Linked DNA regions of Homo sapiens: region 1 is linked to region 2. The links are contacts of gene promoters, found by promoter capture Hi-C in human tissues and cell types (Jung and others, 2019). All regions are on one chromosome and are shown on one strand. The core of a region is centred on a gene start or on the middle of the fragment in contact, and the rest is flanking DNA. Distances in the headings are between cores, read along the strand shown.

Evidence for each region. The method cuts DNA at HindIII sites, captures the fragments that hold promoters and counts their contacts. A contact is called where the count stands out against the background at its distance.
Region 1: the fragment with the promoter of PHF5A here is called in contact with a fragment that was not itself captured in region 2 in 1 of the 25 tissues and cell types used here (dorsolateral prefrontal cortex).

Annotation. Positions count from the first base shown.
Region 1 is chr22:41,466,171-41,470,861 of GRCh38, forward strand. It overlaps PHF5A (PHD finger protein 5A), which reads right to left and starts at 2,522. Exons shown (of 4, transcript NM_032758.4): 1 at 2,432-2,522; 2 at 1,954-1,977; 3 at 1,278-1,444. The coding sequence starts at 2,483. It overlaps ACO2 (aconitase 2), which reads left to right and starts at 2,947. Exons shown (of 18, transcript NM_001098.3): 1 at 2,947-3,012. The coding sequence starts at 2,977. RefSeq lists enhancers at 2,252-2,921, 2,491-3,052, 3,053-3,614. The HindIII fragment of the contact is 2,873 bases long and covers 505-3,377 here.
Region 2 is chr22:40,921,681-40,926,971 of GRCh38, forward strand. XPNPEP3 (X-prolyl aminopeptidase 3) reads left to right here. Exons shown (of 10, transcript NM_022098.4): 8 at 653-833; 9 at 2,682-2,802; 10 at 4,589-5,291. The coding sequence ends at 4,755. Among named protein-coding and RNA genes, the nearest start is that of RBX1, 27 kb to the right of the region's middle. The HindIII fragment of the contact is 4,484 bases long and covers 760-5,243 here.

The DNA.
Region 1 (4,691 bases), core at 1,272-3,771, 540 kb after region 2:
TCCTTTTGTTTTTTGAAGAAAACAAGCTGATTCATAGTTTTCTCCCACAAAGAACCCTGCTGCCAATACTAACCGAAAAAAATGGGGTAAATCTTGCCTGTAGCACTAGTCTATAAGCTCTCTCTCCTGGCATTTGGCTCAGAGTTGAATAGAAAGTAGCCACTGCCACTACACAGTGTCAAGGGACAAAAAAAATCACGATGCAGGTCCACAATCATTTCTGCAATATTAAACCAAAGGCATCTGTTACCTGCTTAAAGCTGAAGTCAACTTGAATTGTCCCAAATTCAACTTTGTCACGATATACACCCAAATAGTGCTTAATGATAGATTTAAGTGGCTATGACACAACATGGGCTGTACAGGACTTATAAACAGACAGGGTCTCTGTCACCCAGGCTGGAGTGCAGTGGCGTGAAAATGGCTCACTGCAGCCTTGACCTCTTGGTCCCAAGTGATCCATCCGCCTCAGTTTCCCAAGTAGCTGCGACCACAGGTACACACCAGCACACCTGACTAATGAAAAATATGTTTTTTTGGCCAGGCGTGATGGTTCATGCCTGTAATCCCAGCACTTGGTGAGGCTAAGGCAGGAGGATCACTTGAGCCCAGGAGTTCGAGACCAACCTAGGTAACAAAACAAGACCCTGTCTCTACAAAAAAAATTTAGCCAGGTATGGTGGCGCATGCCTGTAGTCCCAGCTACTTGGGAGGATGAGATGGGAGGATCGTTTGAGCCCAGGGGGTCAAGGCTGCAGTGAGCCTTGCACATGATCATGCCACTGCACCCCAGCCTGGGCCACAGAGCAAGAGACCCCATCTCAAAAAAACAAAAAACAAGAAGCAAAAAACAAAAAACAAAACACTTTTTTTTTTTTTGAGATGGGATCTTGCTCTGTGGCCCAGGCTGGTCTTTAACTCCTGGACTAAAGTGATCCTCCTAACTTGGACTCCCAAAGTGCTGAGATTACAGGTGTGGGCCACCACGCCCAGCCGGATGTCATTTCTGAATAAGAATAACCACAGAGACATGAATGAGAGGGCTCTCCAAATTGCTGGTCTTGACAAAGATTTGCTTCCCTTGCATTCTTCCCCTTGATGCAAAATAACTGCCTTTTATTGGACTACACCCAGTTTGACTCACAGAACTTGAAGAAATTATAACCTAGATGACTAGATGAACACAGTAATCTCCATAGACCATAGGAGATTGCAGTGGATGGCAAAGTGTTACTAAACAAAAGGAGGAAAGGTCAGATGGAAAGCTGTACACTTACGTCCTTCTCCTGGATGGTGCACTCCTTACAATAATAGGCATCAGAGACCCCAGGTCCTCCACAGATCACACAGCGCCCCTGGTAAGATCCATAGTTACACTCATCACATATGCGCACCAGAGTGCAGGGACGCACATAGGAGTCACAAATCACACACTTGCCATCACCTGTAAGGAAGAGAATGGAGTCATGCTCACAAGTTCTTCAGTCCTCTGCTATCTCCTGCCATGGGGAAATATACTAGTCTCCTGGGAAATACACTAGTCTCCTTTTGACAGTGACTTTAGGGCCCTCCTCTTGGCATCACAAAACTTGGTTTCCCCAGTGTCCATCTCAAGCCCCTCAACACATACAAAAGTTTACCAATTAACATATGTGAAGAGCTTAGAAAAGCACCTCGGAGATGATAAGCCTGTATAATTGCTGGCAAAGTGCTGTGTGTTGGGGAGGGGTCATGCTACTCTGGCGATTCTTCCCGTTGAAAACTAGAGAGATACAGCGTTAAATGTGCAAGCGGCAGTGGGGAGTTAGAGGGGCCTTTGGCTAAAGTGCAGCATTCAGTGTTCACATACTTCCAGGCACATCTACTCAAAGCCCTCTTTGTGGCACTTTTGCTGGTTCCACAGAAAACTGGGAGTGGGAAGGGTGGGTTGTTGGGACGGTGTGTTCCACTCACATTTTTCACACAGTCTTCCGATGGCTGCAAGATGAAAGATGGTAAAAAGTACAATTAGAATAAAGGTTTTGAGAAAGAGGAGAAGTACATCCTCGAGCTGGGGGTAGGGACATGAGTAAGGACTGCAGTGAGTGAGACCTGCGGATAGCCATTTTATCATTACAAATTTCCATATGAACCAAACCTACATCCAAGCACCCTCCTGAATCTCCTCCAACGCCCTGGGCAAGCTCAGAGTTTCTCTGGACCTGGTTCAGACCCCACCCCCCGATACCTGCCTGGGGCTCCCAGCACGCGCACCCCCGCCCTCTTCTCATCAGAGGCCACAAACCTGCGCGCTCCTACAACACCCCGCGCCTGAGAGGCGGGAAACGTGGCGCCTGCGAGGCAAGCCCCTAAGGAAGAGACGGGAACCCCCGACCCCCCAGCTCCTAATACCACCCCTGCCCAGACAGCCAGGGGTAGGGCGCAGTCTCACCAACACCAGCCTGCTTGCGGCAAAAGATCAAATCAGGATGATGTTTAGCCATAGCTCCTAACTAAGCCGGCCACCGGAAGCTTCGGGAACTTCCGTCCGACCTTTAACCCCCATTGTTCCTGCCTCCACGTCGCTGTGATTGGTTCTCTAAGCTTCCGTCAGTTTACAATCCTTGCACCAGGCCCGTCTTGCTCTCGCGCGAGTTTTTGTCGCTGCTGGGCGGCCAGGTCCTGGCAGGTGCATGAAACTCTTAAAAACTCTCCCAGATTTGGATGGCGGAGATAACTAAAATTTGTTCTTGGGTAAAACATCTTTGTGCTTGGTATCTATTTCTGCAAGTGTCTTTGGGCAGTCCGATTTCCTCTTGCGTGTCTGTTCGTTGCACGTGAGCTCCGCCCATTGCGTTCACAGGGTTCTGGCGCCTCTAGGGAGGCCTCGCCTTCACCGTGACGCCCCACTCTTCCGGGCACGCCCCTGCCCAAAGGCTTTAAAGGCGCCGTGTGGGACGTCACTTTAATGCGACCTCATCTTTGTCAGTGCACAAAATGGCGCCCTACAGCCTACTGGTGACTCGGCTGCAGGTGAGCGAGCTCAGGGACCTCTGGGTTCACGGGGGCGGGGTGCCTCCTACTGTGCCGGCGGCTGTGGGCGAGGCAGGGCGAGGCGGGCCCAACCTGGGGCCAACTTCTCGTGTACCTGTCCCGGTTGTGGGCCCGGCACCCGTGCCCGCTTCTCTGGTGCCCTAGGTCAAGGCGTCCCCGGCACAGTCAGCTTTCCTGGCCCTGTCCCTGCCTCGCAAGAAGCGTGGGCCCAAGCAGCGGCGGCCGGGTGAAGAGCGGAGGCACCTCTTTCTTCTTTTTGAGGACAGCATTGCCTGCTCCCGTGGGGTGTGTTTCCATTCCTCAAGGTGAGGACAAGGTGACTAGGGGGCGCGGTCGTTGTTGAGTCTTCTAGGCCCAGTTCCTGAGGCCTCACTTCCCATCTCTTAGCAACAGAGGCATGACAGCATCTACGGTTGCCAGGCCTGGAGTCTGGAGAAGAAACTAGGACCCTGTACCACCTTTTGAGGACCCTGCGGAACGTGGAATGTCGGGGAGGGGGGCGGTCTTCTGGGCCCATACGTAGTAAATAATATAATAATAGTCTCTCACCTTTGCACAAGATTTGAGGCCTGTTTTAATTCTTCATAATATTATTTGATTCCTGTAATCGTAGGAATGAGGTGGTTTTTCTCATTTGATAGATGATAAAGCTGGTAGAAAGTAGGTGAAAGTTCTGATTCTCAAGAGTGTCACCGAAGTGCTGTGGCAGAAGCATGGGCCCTACCACCACTCAGTTCTTGTTTATGTCAGCCTGCCCTCACAGAACTTTATGAACCACGGTGCAATTATTTCTGTTTGTCAGAATGCAGTACGAATATTTTGAGCCTCACAATAAGTTGCTTGTCAAATATGGGAGGATAAGGAGACTCCAGTTTGACCTTGACTCCCCTGTTAGGAGCTATCTAGAAAGCTGACTGACTGCCAGATGATTTTTTCACTTCTAACTTGACAGCCCTGGGAAGGTGTTATACTCAGAGGTTCAATGTCAAATGTGTACTTTGTTAATAAAAATCAAGCAAGCATCTGTAGACATTCTCTGTCAACCTTTCACATTTAACTTTGTGAATTCCTTTTGGATCAAGTGGCGCAACTTTGATAATAGAATTTTACGAGTTGTTATGCGTTGTACTCTCAGGAAGCTTGTGGTACTTGAACTTATTTTTCATCACATTGCTTAAATTTAAACTTGAACTTATTTTTCATCACATTGCTTAAATTGAAACCATATGGTTTAAAGTAAAATCATCATTTATCTGAAAGAAAATATTTCTGATCTCAATTCCGGGCTAAGGGAAAGGATTTGCACCTAATTATCTCTTTACATCTTTTTTTTTTTTTTTTTTTTTTTTTTTTTTTTTTGAGACAGTCTTGCTCTGTCACCCAGGCTGGAGTGCAATGGCGCAATCTTGGCTGACTGCAACTCTGCCTCCTGGGTTCAAGTGACTCTCCTGCCCTCAGCTTCCCGAGTAGCTGGGATTACAGGTGTGCACCACCATGCTTGGCTAATTTTTGTATTTTTAGTAGAGACGGGGTTTCACCCTGTTGACCAGGCTGGTCACAAACTCCTGACCTCAAGTAATCGGCCTGCCTTGGCCTCCCAAAGTCCTGGGATTACAGGTGTGAGCCACCACACCTGGCCTCTTCACGTCTTTTGATTC
Region 2 (5,291 bases), core at 1,752-4,251:
TTTGAATTTCAAATATTTTCTTTGGATATATTAGAGTAGAATTATAAGCTCTAGTTATATGAGCATCTTTAAGGCCTTTGATGTAATTGGCTGTATTAATTTATACTCCTATCAACAGTATGTGAGAATACATATCATGTATCATCCCAGGTCACTTTTTTATCTCGTAATTGCTAAAGAAACTGTTATTCTAAAGACACTTAAGTGCTAGTACATTACTAGTAGCCCAGATGTTGACTAGTTTATCCCATGGTATCTGCTTCACCTGTCAGAAGTGGGTCCCTAGGCTTTCTTGCCTTTTTTTTTAATGGTAGTCTATGCTGTAAGGGATTAAACAGGATCATGGCTGAGCCTCATCTGCCCACTGACTGCACTCATGGCTCAGTGCTTCTTTTGGCCCTACTTCATGTCTCTCCTGACCATTTGAAGAAGAGACTGTGTTGCTGCTCCAGCTTGAAGGATTGTTGCCCTTCCTACTGAGCACCTAGGACATGATTGAGCTCCTGGCCATATTGATAGATTGGTACTTATTAAACATCAACAGTGCCCCAGCAACAGCAGCATCTTGGGGTTTTTCTAATCAAACTTAGTAGCAAACTTCTTAGAATATCAGATTATCTAAGTTCAGGTTCTTTGGTTTTCCCGTCCCCAGGTTCACCGCACCTCAGGCAGAACTCTATGAAGCCGTTCTAGAGATCCAAAGAGATTGTTTGGCCCTCTGCTTCCCTGGGACAAGCTTGGAGAACATCTACAGCATGATGCTGACCCTGATAGGACAGAAGCTTAAAGACTTGGGGATCATGAAGAACATTAAGGAAAATAATGCCTTCAAGGTACTTCACTTCTCTTGACCCCAGTTCTCAAGAACACCTAGCATGCTGCTAGGTTTTTACCCTATATAAAGCTAATTAGACTTAGAAATGGGACAGATGTAGTGATTCATGCCTGTAATCCCAGTAGTTTAGGAGGCTGAGGCAGGAGGATTGCTTGAAGCCAGCCTGGGCAACATAGCAAGACCCATCTATATACATGTAGATATATACACACACACACACACACACACACATATATATATACACACACATACGTAGATATATATACATACACACACAGGGTTTTTTAAGTAAAAAGAAAAGATTTAGAAATCATCTTTGTGATCTATAAAAGGGATTTAGCTTTAACATGGATTAAAACAAAGGAAGTCAGTACTTATTTCTTCCAGAAGATGGCAGCACATGCTGATTCATTACATGCTGCATAACTAGCTCAGTATTCAGAAAACTTAAAATGAAGTCTGGTGCCGACAGGGTGAAAAAGGAAACAAGAAATGAGGAGAAGCCTGGGAAACATAGCAAGACCCTATCTCTACAAAAAATTTAAAAGTTAGCCAGGTGTGGTGGCACACACCTCTAGTCTCAGCTACTTGGGAGGTTGAGGTGGGAGGATCACTTGACCCCAGAAGTTCAACGCTGCAGTGAGCTATGTTCGCACCACTGCACTCCAACCCGGGCCACAGAACAAGGCCCTGTGTCTAAAAAAAAAAAAAAGAGAGAGAGATTAACTTTTAATCCTTTTATGGGTTATTCTGTAGGTCAAAGGAGAAGGTATTTGTTGTTTAAGTGACATTTTTGACACTTCAGCAATATTCCCAAAGACCATGTCATTAGTGAATTTTTTTTCTGCATCCAAAATGTGATGGTGTTCAGTAAAAACGTAAAACCTCAGCTTTAAAATTAAGATACTAGATGCCTAAGTCAGATAGACCATTAGGCATCTCCTACCTACAAGTTAAGCCTTCTAGGACTTCTGTTATCAGTAAAAATGAAGCTATAAATTGGCTGTTGCTTGGGCCAACAAATCTTTAACTAACTGACGGAAATATCCAAGCTGGCTGGGCACAGTGGCTCACACCTGTAATCCCAGCACTTTAGGAGGCTGAGGCAGGCGGATCACATGAGGTCAGGAGTTCGAGACCAACCTGGCCAACATGGTAAAACCCTGTCTCTACTAAAAATACAAAAATTAGCCAGGCATGGTGGTACATGACTATAATCCCGGCTATTTGGGAGGCTGAGGTGGGAGAATAGCTTGAACCCAGGAGACAGAGTTTGCAGTGAGCCAAGATCACACCACTGCACTCCAGCCTGGGCAGCAGAGCAAGACTCCATCTCAAAAAAAAAGAAAGAAATACCCAAGCTGGTAGGTGCCCAAAAGTGTGCCTTCTCCACAAGTTGCTGTGAGCTATTTAGGGTCTCCAGAGTAGATTCCTGAGAGGGATGTGTGAACGAACATTGGAAAGAGAACTGTGATAATAGTCATCCTCTCTTTCCCAAGAAAAGAGATTTTTTTTTCTTTCTTTTATTTTTATCTTTCCTGTGGTACTGAAGAAAAGAGACTTTCATTTGCCACAGTCATTAGTTGGAATTACTCAAGTCTGCATGTATGTAGTATATTAAATAGCGGGAATGGAAATGTGGATTGATGAGAATGCCATTGGCAGAATTGCATGTAAGAGGTCGCAGTTTTTCAGGTGCCTTTAAGTATTAGCCCAAGGAGGGATTAAACTGAAGTGGCAGAACCATGGGGGAGATAATAACACATATCTCACTGATTTATACTTGCCCAGCATTCCCTGTAAGAGGTCATTGCTCTAATGATACTGTGACAATTATCTTTTCCAGGCTGCTCGAAAATACTGTCCTCATCATGTTGGCCACTACCTCGGGATGGATGTCCATGACACTCCAGACATGCCCCGTTCCCTCCCTCTGCAGCCTGGGATGGTAATCACAATTGAGCCCGGTAAGGAGAGGTGTTACAATAGTAGTATGAGGTAAATGTTTGTTTGTTTGTTTGTTTTTGAGATGGAGTTTTGCTCTTTCGCCCAGGCTGGAGTGAAGTGGTGTGATCTTCACTCACTGCAACCTCCGCCCCCCAGGTTCAGCAATTCTCCTGCCTCAACCTCCTGAGTATCTGGGATTACAGGTGTCGGCCACCACGCCTGGCTAATTTTTATATTTTTAGTAGAGACGGGGTTTCGCCATGTTGGCCAGGCTGGTCTCGAACTCCTGACCTCAGGTGATCCACCTATCTCAGTCTCCCAAAGTGCTAGGATTATACGTGAGCTACCGCGCCCAGCCACATTGTTTATTTTTACCTCAACCAATGTAATTAAGTTAGAAGAGACAGGAAAAAAAGTCCAGTGTGGAAGGTAATTTTATTTTCGATTTATCTTTTGTATTCTTATTTAATATCACACAATTTGTTCAGTTTGACTCCTCCAATAAACAACAGATGGGGAATACTTCCTATAAGTAGATATTAAGAAATGAATCTTTTTTAATCCTGCCTTTCCCAGGGCCAGTTTGTACTGGTCTCCCATTTAGTAGTGGGGGGCTGCTCAAGCTTCCAAAGCCCCCGGTGCTTGTGTGCAGAGAGACAGGCAGACACACTATGCTCTCAGTTTCAACACCTCTGCAAGCTGCATTGAGCTACCCAGCACCATCCCACTCCTTAGTATCCATCGCCTTCCTCATAAGCTTCAGAGAAAGCTAACAATCGGATACGTTACCTAACTTGAATGGTCCTGGGTGTTGGGCAGGATTCTGAAGAGAAGCAGTGACCACAATGGTGTGTGAAGATTGATGTTGTCAGAGTTGATGGTTAAATACTGATGCTGGTTTTGTTTTGAAAACAGATCTAAATTTTAGATTTCAAGTATTTTAATCTCTGTATAAATTATGGCTGTGAAATGTCTTTTATGCCACCCTTTGAACCTAGTCATACATTGCTATCTGTGGCCATAGATATATCATTTAGTTCAATCTGTTTGGTACATGGGCGCTTCCTTAGACTGCGCTACATTTTCCTTTGCTGATCTTTCTTTTTCAATCGCAGAGCAGTATCTGTGAGGATAGTGGAGGAAGTTTACAACTTGTTTAATATAAAAAGCCCTGGTATGTGTCTAACTTCATGATTAGAAAGGGTACCTGGGGTTCCTACATTTTTCCAAATGTACATTAAAGTCTTTCAGTTTCTCTTGTATTTTATATTACACACATCAGATATATTTAAATCTTATAATGACTGTCTCTGCAGCTTCCAGTTGTCAAGGCTAATAATCTCTAAATGTTTCTTTGAATACAGTTTAAATATATTTTGTCTTTATTTTTGCAAGGTGCTCTTTTTCCAAGGGACTCTTAGGCAGGGGAAGAATGCACTTACATAATCTGCTTGTCCCCCACATATATTGACGTACTTTTAAATTAAGTAACTTTATTGGCCTGCTTGAGCCACTAGAATATGACAGAATCATGATCAGCATTGCCGTAGTTGTATTTAGCTTGTAGTCCAATATAAAGATAACCACAATAATAATTTTAGTAATGATACCAACATGTGTTGACCATTATATGCCAGCCACTTTGACATGTATTATCTCATTTAATCCTCACAGCTTTACTAGGTAGGTACCATAAAGATCCAGTATTACAGAGGAAGGAATTTTAACCCAGAGGTTAACTTACTTGCCCCAAACCACCCAGTTACTATCATTCCTGAACAGCATGTTCTTCTTTCTACTTCACAGGCATTTATATTCCAGAGGATGACAAAGATGCCCCAGAGAAGTTTCGGGGTCTTGGTGTACGAATTGAGGATGATGTAGTGGTGACTCAGGACTCACCTCTCATCCTTTCTGCAGACTGTCCCAAAGAGATGAATGACATTGAACAGATATGCAGCCAGGCTTCTTGACCTTCACTGCGGCCCACATGCACCTCAGGTTCAAAATGGGTGTCTTCTGGCAGCCCTGCACGTGTGCTTTCTGAGTGTCTCTGTGTGTGCATTAATATATGCATTCCATTTGGGAGCATAGCAGCTGTGTGAATGTATGTAATTGTGTGTGGGGGGTTTTTTGTTTTAAGTAGTTAGAAGTCTGGGAAAATGAATTTTTGAATAGTATGTTACTGCAGCTTTGGTAACATTAATTCTATAGAATTAATGATCAGAGCAAGTTTAATTTTTAAACATAAAGGTCTTGGTTACACATGTCCATGCATTCCAGTTAACACATTTAAACATATAGAAAATTCACTTCTTCTTTCAAGTCCTTCCCTTTCTATACTTTTGCTGAGATCAACCCAATATCATAAGAAGTTTGTGTGATGCCTGTATTTTTAGCTAATTACCAAGGTCTCTGCCTATGCAAAAATTCATCTTTCGGTGATTGTGGGCGGCCAATACATACCTTCTGTAACTCCTCCCTACCTATTCTAGATCCTGCATATCTA